Linked DNA regions of Homo sapiens: region 2 is linked to region 1. The links are contacts of gene promoters, found by promoter capture Hi-C in human tissues and cell types (Jung and others, 2019). All regions are on one chromosome and are shown on one strand. The core of a region is centred on a gene start or on the middle of the fragment in contact, and the rest is flanking DNA. Distances in the headings are between cores, read along the strand shown.

Region 1 (5,270 bases), core at 2,771-5,270:
AACTGGGGTGAGGGGAATCAACATCAGGGCTTTTCCTGAGACTATAAGGAGAAACAGATTCTTTTCCCAGCAGTTAAATTTGAAGTCTGTGGCCATTTTGCTACCATATAGGGAAAATCTGCCTGACATTGAAGCCAACACAGATGAGGGAAGAGCCAAGAGATAAAGAGAAAGATCCTGAGCATCTGGATACAGCCATGCCTGAAGCCAGTATCCCTTGACTTCTCAATTATGTGAGCCTTTATATTCCCTTTGTTTAAAGCCAGTTCAAGTTTAAAACTGCCATTTCCAGTGAGAACAATTCCCTATGTTGTATCTAAGGCCAAGACCTTGCCCCTGACTCTAGGCCAGAATGTCCTGTACAGTGCCATTCAACTCTGCCAAAAGCAAAGGGCATCAACTTCTCCACAACCTGGCTTTCCCTCATCTATTTTACATCTCTGTTAATGGGAGCATCACCCACCTGACCTATAAACATAAAAGTCAGCCTCTATCCTCTCTGTCTCTCTCCCTCTCTCTGTCTCTCTCTCTCTCTCTCAATCCCTGTCACTTCCCTTACTTCTTAGTAACCAAGTTCTGCCAACTTAACTTTATGGACATTTTTCACACCTGCACCCTCCTTTCCATTTTTCCTGCCCACTCCAATTCTTCATCATTTCTCACCTAAATTTTTACAAAATCAATAGATAACTAACATAGAGGTGTATAGTAAAAAGTGAATTTCGGCCGGGCACAGTGGCTCATGCCTGTAATCCCAGCACTTTGGGAGGCCGAGGCAGGCAGATCATGAGGTCAGGAGATAGAGACCATCCTGGCCAACATGGTGAAACCTCATCTGTACTAAAAATACAAAAAAAAATTAGCTGGGCATGGTGGCATGTGCTTGTAGTCCCAGCTACTGGGGAGGCTGAGGCAGGAGAATCGCTTGAACCCGGGAGGCGGAGGTTGCAGTGAGCTGAGATCGCACCACTGCCCTCCAGCCTGGTGACAGAGCGAGACTCCATCTCAAAAAAAAAAAAAAAAAGTGAATTTCATTCCCACCCTTGCCATCAGTTACCCTCCCCCAAGGCATCTACTGTTACCTCTTTCTTGTCTATTTTCCCAGAAGTTCTCTATATGTGCCATCTTTTTGAGAATTTCAAATGGAGGCATACTATCAAGACTTTTCAGAACACTGCATCCTTCTTCACTTGAAGTGTGATTAATATAAATAATTATAGACTAATTTCTTCTTTCTAATGGATGCATAGTATTCCACAAAGACATATAATGTACATAACTCGTCTTCCATTGATGGATATTTAAGTGGTGTCCCAGTTATCTGTTAGCACAGAACAAAACCCCCCAAACCTAGTGGTATAACACAATAACCACTTGAATATGCTTGTGGGTTCTGTGTGTCAGGAATTCAGGCAGGACACAGTGAGGCCAGCTTGTTTCTACTCTGCAATGTTTGAGTCTTCAGCTAGGAAGATTTGAAGATTTGAAGGCTGAAGCTGATTCAAATGGCTGGCCACTGGAATCATCTTGTTCTTCCCCTTCCCCTTCGCCTTCTACAGTGCAATGGCATGATGTCGGCTCACTGCAACCTCTGCCTCCCGGGTTCAAGCAATTCTCCTGCCTCATCCTCCCTAGTAGCTGGGATTACAGGTGCACGCCACCATGCCCGGCTATTTTTGTATTTTTAGTAGAGACGGGGTTTTGCCATGTGGCCAGGCTGGTCTCGAACTCCTGAACTCAGGGTATCCACCCGCCTTGGCCTCCCAAAGTGCTGGGATTACAGGTGTGAGCCACCGTGCCTGGCCTCATCTGGTTCTTCTTCACTCACTTCTTTTATGCTTGAACTGGGATGACTCAAAGCTAAGCTTAGCTGGGACTGTGGTGCCTTCATGTGTCCTCTCCTGATGGTCTTGGCATCCTGACAGCATGGCAGCCTCTAAGCAGACATGGAGCCCTAGGTAGGCATGGTGCCTCAGGCTCCAAGAGCTAGAGTTCTAGCAGAAGTTGCCTGTACTTTTATGTCTGGACCTTAGAAGTCAGAGTGTTACTTCCACCGTACTCCATTGGTTGAAGCAGTCATCAGCTCACCCAAGATTCAGAGAGGGTACAAGGATCCCACCTCTCTACAGAGGAGTGCTAAAGAATTTGTAGCTATATTTTAAAACCACCACAGGTTGTTTCCAATCTGTAGCTATTCCTGTAGTTCATTTTACAGGCTAACATCTCTTGAATGTCTTCATTTCTCTGCACCAGGCCAAGACACTGTCATCTCTGATCTCTTTGCTGATCTCTTGCTGTCACTCTTGTGCTCAACATGCTGTTCTCTTGACAGCAGCCAGAGGTCTTTTCAGAATGAAAATCAGATCACATCCCACCCCTCTTCATAACCCTTCCATGGCTCCCCACTACCCTTGGGCTGAAGCTCAAACTCCTTACCTTGGCTTATGAGGCCCCACAAGGTCTCACTTCTGCCTGCCTCTCCAATGCCATCTCCTGTCACCATTTGGGGCCTTTAGTTTTGAGCTGCAAGAGTTCCTCCCATCACACACACACACATACACACACACACACACACTTAAATGAGTAAGTAAATAGAACATACAAAACGCTTAAACACTTTGCACATAGTGAGCATAATAAGTTTGCTACTATTATTAGACTGTCTTCAGTAAATATTTACTGGGCTGCCTACTCAGTGCCAAGCACTATGGGAGGCTCACAGATACAACACGAACAAGAAATATGTGGCCTTGGCCAGACGCGGTGGCTCACGCTTACAATCCCAGCACTTTGGGAGGCCGAGGCAGGTGGATCACTTGAGCTCAGGAGTTCAAGACCAGCCTGGGCATCATGGCAAAACCCTGTCTCTATTAAAAATACAAAAAATTAGCTAGGCATGGTAGTGCGTGCCTGTAGTCCCAGCTCCTCAGGCGACTGAGGTGGGAGGATCACCTGAGCCTTGGGAGATCGAGGCTGCAGTGAGCCGTGATCATGCCACCGCACTCCAGCCTGGACAACAGAGTGAGACGCTGTCTCAAAAAAATAAAAATTAAAAAAAAAGAAAAAGAAAAACTAAAAAGGAAGATGTGGCCCTATCTTGCCGAGCTCATTCTTCTGTGTGTCCCCAGCCCCTAGCACAAGGAGAAACAGAATAGATGCTCAAGACACAAAGGCATGTCTGTGCAAGGGTGCTTGATGACGGTTGGAGGGGCACAATGACTTTCCCAAGATCACACAGCAAATGTGGGACAAAATCAAGGCTGACAGCTCATGACAGGGTGGGAGGCAGATGCAGCTGCCTGGCACAGGCTGGCTCTCCAGGGAGATGGGCAGTGGGCACGCATTGCCCAGGGCAGAACTGGGGCTAGGGGAGGAAACAACAAGGGAGGCTGTCATTAGCTCCTTCCAAAGTGGAGGTCACTTCTCTCCCAACCCCGAGTCCTCCACCCAAACTCCCTTCTCAAGGTACAAGGGCTGATCCCGTACCAGGGATGGGTAGGGACTCAAAGAGGAAAAGAGGATGAAAAGAGGATGGGGACTGAGTGAGATGTGAGGACTCCAGAGGGATTAGCGGCTCTCAAGGCAAGTGGGAGGGGACTTCCCGGTAGGAGCCCGGAGACAGATGGGAGCCTGTGAAGAGGGCGGGGGCCCGGCGAGGAGAAGCGGTTTCTACGCTGGGGTGGGGCTCCATGAGGGGGATGGAGACCTGGAAAAGGGACTGACGGTGCAGCGAGGAGAGGAAGGCTCGGTTAAGGGATGGGTCTTCCACGGGAGGGGTGGGGAACTGCGGGAGTGACGGCAGCTTCGGTGAGGAGTCTGAGGGGCTGCGTGAGGGGCTGGGGCCCAGGGAGTCCGAGGGGTCTCTGTGAGGGCGCTGGGGTGTCCGAGCGAGCAGGGAACTCTGGAAGGGGACAGGAGCCGGGGGAGCTGCAGGCGGCCGCCGTCTGCAGAGCCAGGCCCTGAGGCGGGCCGGCGCCCCCTCCCCCGCCCCGAACTGCGGCGCAGGCGCGAACCGGACCCGCCTTTGCTCGGCGGAGACAGCAGGCAGAGAGGTGAGCTTAGCCCTGCCCCACGCGCGGCCAGGCCCCAGCCCCAGCCCCTGGAGAACCCCCGCGCTCTGCCCGCATCCTCAGCCCGGGCCGTGTCCCGCCAGGGCCGGGACCTTTGCGCCTGAGCCTCGGCTTTGGGAGGTGGGGGTCCCAGGGAAGCAGCAGGGGCGGGAGACAGAAACAGCCCCATCGCCCCTCGACGCCTCAGGGTTGATAGGCTGGGTAGAGGCTTCAAAGGACACCCCCACCCCCGCCAACACTTCAAAAACCCATTCCTACCCCTCTCTGCCTCAGTTTCTCTCTAGGGAAAAGGACGCAGTTGGTGTGGAGCAGGGCATCGGTGGTCCTGTCAGGAAGAGTGGCGCGGGTGCCGGTGGGGAAGGGAGGCGGGAAATGGCCTGATTTCCCCGGCCGACACCCCCTACCCATCCCCCCCGGGAGGGCGCCCCTTCTCCCCCGCCCGGGCAGCGCTGGACGCTGTAGTGGGCGAGTCTGAGGGTCTGGGAAGGACACAACTGAATGAGGCTGTGCAGAGGCGACAGATTCCGTCCATCTTCGGGCCCTGGCTTCCGTCACTTCCGCCCGTGCCTGCCGCCCCTCGCCTCCTCCCTCCGCCGCAGTCTCCCCACGTCGGACAGCGCAGCCCCCTCCGCCTCCCGCTCCCCTCCCACCGAGCTCCTCCCGGCTCCCGGGCTGGGGACGCCTCCCTAGCGGTTCCCATGGCAACCCTCGTCCCGGGTGCCTGCGCCCCGCCCCCCGCCCGCCAGACCTACTCCGTGCAGCCCTGAAACGCCAGGCGGAGGGGCCAGGCCGAGCGGGAGGCAGCGTCAAGGTCACCTTCCCTCTCCAGTAGCAGCAGGACTGAGTGATTCCATCTATTTGGAGTCGCGGAAGCGGTGAATTGGAGGGGAGGAGCTGACCCAGGTCAACAGCCCCGAAGCCCCCTCCACACCTCCTCACCTGTGGCCTTGAACAGTGGTCTCCGCACGGAGGCTCCTACCGTCCCCCAGGCCCCATTTCTTCTCCCCACCCGGGCCTCCCCAGCGCCTCGCCGGGGCGGGTACCGCGCTGGCCGCACCCTCCGCACAGCCCGCCCCGCCCGCCTCCTCCGGCGAGCCCTCCTCTCCAGACCTCTCGCCCTCCTCCTCCGACGGTCCTTCGCTTTCAGTCTCTGCCTTTTCCCGTTCTCTGTCGTGGCTTTTGTTGTTGTTGTTTTTCCTC
Region 2 (5,270 bases), core at 1,591-4,090, 370 kb after region 1:
CATCTTATTTCCCACTTCTCAGGGATCATGATCCTTTATTGCCTGTTGCCTAGAGTCTTAAAAATTACAGTTTCATGTATTTTGCCTGGTTTGGTTTGTTTGTTTGATTGTTTCAAGCAGGAGAGTAAATTCAGTTTCTGATACTCCATCTTGGGTGGAAGCAGATATGAGAAGGTGACATTTGAACACAAACTTGAAGGAGTTGATGGAGTGAACCAAGAGGATATGGGAGTGGGGAGAGGAAGGAGATTCTAGGCAGTGTGAACAGCAAGTACAATGGTCTCCTGCGTGTATAGCTGAGAGTGCGGGTAGTGTGTTTGAGGAAGGAAGGGAGCACGTATGGCTGGAGCAGAGAGTTATGTGGGGAAAGTGGGGAGAGGGAGGGATGAGGTGTCAGCTTGTGTAGGACCTTGCAGGCCATGGAGAGGATTTTGGCTTTTACACCAAATGAAATGGGAGCCATGGGAGGATTTTGAGCAGAGGGAGGACATCTTTTACAGGATCTCTGAATCGATTGGATTAACTGAAAGGGATAAGAGGGCAAGAGAGAAAGCCAGAGACTTGCTGGGAACCAGTGCACTAAGCCAGGTGAATGCTAGTGACTCAGACACATGAAAGGACACACTACCAAGGGGGTGAATAACTAGGAGCGGGGATGAAGGAGGCTTCTGGGGTGCTGTCGGTGTCTTGTATCTTGATCTGAGGGAGGTTACATCATCTGCTCACTGTGTGAAGATTCATTGAGCTGGATGTACACGTCTAAATTGTGTTCACAATTGAATTGAATACATGAATATATTACTATATAAATATACTATATACATATAAAACTTAGAAAACAAAGTAGGGAGATGAAGGTGGCTTGGACTAGACTGTTATCAGTGGAGGTGGGAAGAACTGTATGCATTCTAGATCTCTTTTATATGTAGATCCAATAAGATTTGCAAACAGATCTAATGTTAGATGTGAAGACAGAGAATAGTCCAGGATAATGTCAAGTTCTCTGGCTGAGCTACAGCAAAGACTGAGGACCTGCTGTGTACCAGAGCTTGGGCTAAGCTCTATTAACTTCTTTAATCTTCATGACAATTCTAGGAAGTAAGTCTGGCAAGAGCTGCTTCTGAGGTTTTTGTGGGGCTACTGGGAGCCTTTCCACCAGAAGTGTAGTTTGTGTGATGGATTCCAGAGGTAGTGGTGGCCACCTTTGCCTCCATGAGGTTACAGGCTGCCTGAGAGTGAGGCCTACAAGAAAGAAATCAAAGCCATGATAGAGAGAGAGACAGGATCCTCACAGTAACATGTCAGCACCTGGATTCAGCCATAACAGAAGCCAGTGCCCTGGGCTTCTCAGTTATATAAATTAATAATTACTTTTTTTTTTATTTCTTTCACTTCTAACTGAAGAGTCCAGACTGATACAACTTCTTCATATGTGTCCCCTGTCTGCACCATCCAATGGACCATCAACAGCAGCTACATCCTCTCCTTACCGTTGCTTGCTTGCTTTTTTTGAGACAAGGTCTCTTTCTGTTGATCAGACTGGAGTGCAGTGGCATAATCACAGCTCACTGCAGCCTTGACCTCTTGGGCTCAAGCAGTCCTTCTGCCTCAGCCTCCTAAGTAGCTGGGTCTATAGGTGCTTGCCATCATGCCCAGCTATTTTTTTTTTTTTCATAGAGACAGGGTCTCACTATGCTGTCTAGGCTGGTCTTGAACTCCTGGACTCAAGAAATCTTCCTGCCTTGGCCTCCCAAAGTAGTGGGATTACAGGCGTGAGCCACCGTGTTTGGCCGTCCTTACCATTTCTAATGCCTGCTCTGCACTTTCTCTCTCTGGACCTTTGCTCCTACAGGTCCTCCTTTCCAGAATGCCTTTCCTCCCTTACCTTCTGCCCTCACATCAAAACCAGCCCCCTACTCAAAGCCATCCTAACTCCACCAGCTGAAGGATGGAGCTGGCAGAGTGCTTAGATATCAATCCATTTTACAGATGGGAATACCAAGGTCACTGTGAGACAGGGCAGATTTGTGGTCAGGACTCCCGCGTTCTGACTCTCTGAGACTCTTTCCATGATCCTCCAGGACAGCCTTTTCTGTGCCCTCCCTTGCGTGGGGTTGAACAGTACTTTTCACAACAATTTACACTCTCCCATACCCCAACCCTTGCACGTGCTGTTTCCTCAGTCTGGGATGCCCTATTCCATTCTGTCCTTCCGGAAAGGGTGCCACTTGAACTTGGAGATTCAACTCAAGGATCAGACTTCCAGAAGCCTTCTCTTTTTCCCAGGGTGGCTCTGTGTCCTGCCTGGTACTCCCACAGCTGCCTCTGGTACCTCCATGAACCCATTTATCCATTTGTTTTTTAGGTGTCTGTTTCTTGTTTGCCTCACCTGTTAGGTAGGGGAACTGAGGCAGACCTCCTGGCCAAAGAAGGCTCCCAACTGATGTTTGTGAATCAACATAGAGTGAGAAAGAGCCCCGTGGAGTGGGGCGGGGGGTGGAGAGCCAGCGCTGGGCGTGGAGGCAGGACGCCTGGGCTCCAGTCCAGCCACCACCACTCTAGTGTGTGGCCTCATGCAAGTCATGTCCTCTCCTTGAGCCTCAGGCTTTTTTGGCAGTAAAAAGGGCAGAACATCATAGTAGTTAATACCTCAGGCAGCCTGGATTTGAATCTTGGCTGTGTGACTTTAGGCAGTTTACTCCAGCTCTCTGTGCCTGTTTCCTCATTTGCAAAATGGGGGCAATAAACATATCTGCATCATAGGGTATTTGTGAGCATTAAATGAGTTAATGTTTACAAAGCTTTCAAACCATGCTTGCTTGGCACATCATATAAGCATCCCAGAGTGAGAACCATTAAACAAAAGAAACCCTTCCCTTCCTGAGAGGAGAGGAGAGCTTGACAAACTCTAAAGTGGCGTGTGAGTGAACTATGGTCACTCTCAGGGGGTAAGCTGCCTGGAAAAGGCTGACTCTGACACTGACTAGTGTGTGTCTTTGGAGAAATCATGTCACCTCTCTGGGACTCAGCTTCCCCATCTATCAAATGGAGGAGTTGGTCTAGCGCAGTTGGAGTTAAAGTGCTTTGTCTCTTTGAGTTTTATGTCCATGTCAGTAGAGTGGGCTGAGAGCTGCATGTCTGTCATGCGCTCCTGGTGAGAATGAAATACGATGATGGGCCGGACGCGGTGGCTCATGCCTGTAATCCCAGCACTTTGGGAGGCTGAGGCGGGTGGATCACTTGAGGTCAGGAGTTCGTGACCAGCCTGGCCAACATGGTGAAACCCTGTCTCTACTAAAAATACAAAAATTAGCCGGGTGTGGTGGCGGGCGCCTGTAATCCCAGCTACTTGGGAGGCTGAGGCAGGAGAATCGCTTGAACCCGGGAGGTGGAGGTTGCAGTGGAACCAGGATTGAGCCACTGCACTCCAGCCTGGGCAAAAAAGTGAGACTCTGTCTCAAAACAAATAAATAAAATAAAAAATATAATAATAAATAAATAAATACAATGATGTCTGGAGCACTTGCCAGTCATGCCTGCCACATAGCAAGTAATCTGTCATAACTGTCACTGTTATTCTGGCCCTGACATTCCAGGGTTCCTTGAGGTGGGGCAGGATGAGGGATGGGCTGGGCATCATGAAGGAAGGTGCTGATGTATCACCTACTGACAGTTTAGAAAAGGGAAGGCAGCCATGTGACCCACAGGCAGTGTCCCCCTGCCTGAGCCTTATTTGCAGGGCTGTGGCATCGGTGAGCAGGACAGGGACCACCACGCCCACTAGAGAAAGAAGCACGTGCTGCTTTTGTGAGTTCACAAAGGTCTTGGTTTTCCAGGGCCAACAGTGTCCCCGCCACACGTGACCACCTCAGAACCATCACCTGCCACCTGCCAGGGCCTGGGAGTTGGAATCTGAGGTGGAAGGAGAGAGCAGGGGCCAACTCCTGGCTGCTCCCCTCTCTTGGTATGTGACCCTGGGCAAGCCTCTGCACCTCTGTCCCCTTTGTCCTCTCTTGTCACATAATGAGGTTTTGAGTGTCTTAGATAGGGAGGATGTCTCCCTATCTAAGGATAGGATAGGATAGAAATGGCCAGGCCCTGGTGCCTCTGCTAGCTCAGTCTGGCTGGGACGACCTGGGAAGAACATGGCCTCAGTTCCAAAGCCAAGGCGGCTCCTGGGGGAGCTGCAGCTGGAGGCTGTCAGCTTGCTGCCCTCCTTGCTGCTGAAGGACAAGCTTTTTCTTGAAGATAGGATGGATAGGATGTCTCCTATCCATCAGGAGATGCGATTATTGGCCTAGACTGGGCAGGGTCTCCACCTGGGCGACGGGTTGGGAGGCGGAAGTGAAGCTGGTGGCATGAACCATTCTCAGTGACCTTTCACCAGGGTGAGTGGGAAGTAGTTGGGAGCATCGAGGCCTCACTCTCCATCCTGAAGATGGAGCACAGACTGGCTGGCTGAGGCCGGGAGCTCATCACGGGATGGAGACAGATTGGCAGACAAAGAGGAGGCGGGCGGTTGGGGCTGGGTGCCCCTGGGGAGGAAGGCGGGGAGAGAGCGTAGGAGCAGGAGGAAAGAAGGCTGGGCTTATGTGCAGCCTCACAGACTGGGCCTGCAGAGTCTCCAGCTGGAGGTTGGGACTGGACCTTCCTCCTGAATGGGCAGGGAGGGAGGCTTGTTGGCCTAGCCCTCGGGGTTCTTGAAATAAATGAGGGAGGGCCTTGGGGGGTGGTAAATTGCTGAGGCTGTGATAAACATTCTCCCCTTCCCACAAAACACACACAGGCACGTGTGCGTGCATACACATACACACACACACCCTGGCCACACTGCTGTGCATATCTTACTGATTGTTGTCCTCTGTGACAGCAGTTCTCCAAGTTGAGTGCATTGGAAGGATCAGTTAAAATGCAGATTTCCAGGCATTTCCATCTCTAAATGTAGGGTGTGGCCTGAGAATGTGTATGTCTTACAGGATCCTGGTTGATGCTGATGCTGGGGGTTCTGGGACACACTTTGAGAACCACTGCTCCATTGAGCAGCCTTTCAGTTTGGGTGCCCCTCGGTGCTGGTGCTGGGAGAGAGTTAGGAGGGCAAGGGGGTTAGTGAGGGCTGCTACCTGTGAAACACAAAGCAGGAGGGAATGGAATTGGCCAGGAGAGCCTCAGACCACAGCCCGGGCCTGCAGAGTCACCCTCTAGGGGTCTCTGGAGTAAAGATTATCCACAGAGAAGCCCCACATGGGGCAGAAATGGCCAGGCCCTGGTGC

What was found. The method cuts DNA at HindIII sites, captures the fragments that hold promoters and counts their contacts. A contact is called where the count stands out against the background at its distance.
Region 2: a fragment that was not itself captured here is called in contact with the fragment with the promoter of NRSN2 in region 1 in 1 of the 25 tissues and cell types used here (pancreas).

What each region holds. Positions count from the first base shown.
Region 1 is chr20:343,091-348,360 of GRCh38, forward strand. NRSN2 (neurensin 2) reads left to right here and starts at 4,021. Exons shown (of 5, transcript NM_001323682.2): 1 at 4,021-4,052; 2 at 4,344-4,422. LOC101929937 (serine/arginine repetitive matrix protein 2-like) reads right to left here. Exons shown (of 4, transcript XM_047440635.1): 2 at 5,010-5,270; 3 at 4,329-4,924; 4 at 3,176-3,901. The coding sequence ends at 3,578. RefSeq lists enhancers at 2,793-3,556, 3,557-4,319, 4,320-5,082 and silencers at 3,889-4,308, 4,329-4,858, 5,039-5,128. The HindIII fragment of the contact is 22,559 bases long and covers 1-5,270 here.
Region 2 is chr20:715,500-720,769 of GRCh38, forward strand. No RefSeq gene overlaps it. Among named protein-coding and RNA genes, the nearest start is that of SCRT2, 42 kb to the left of the region's middle. RefSeq lists an enhancer at 4,396-4,900. The HindIII fragment of the contact is 3,953 bases long and covers 865-4,817 here.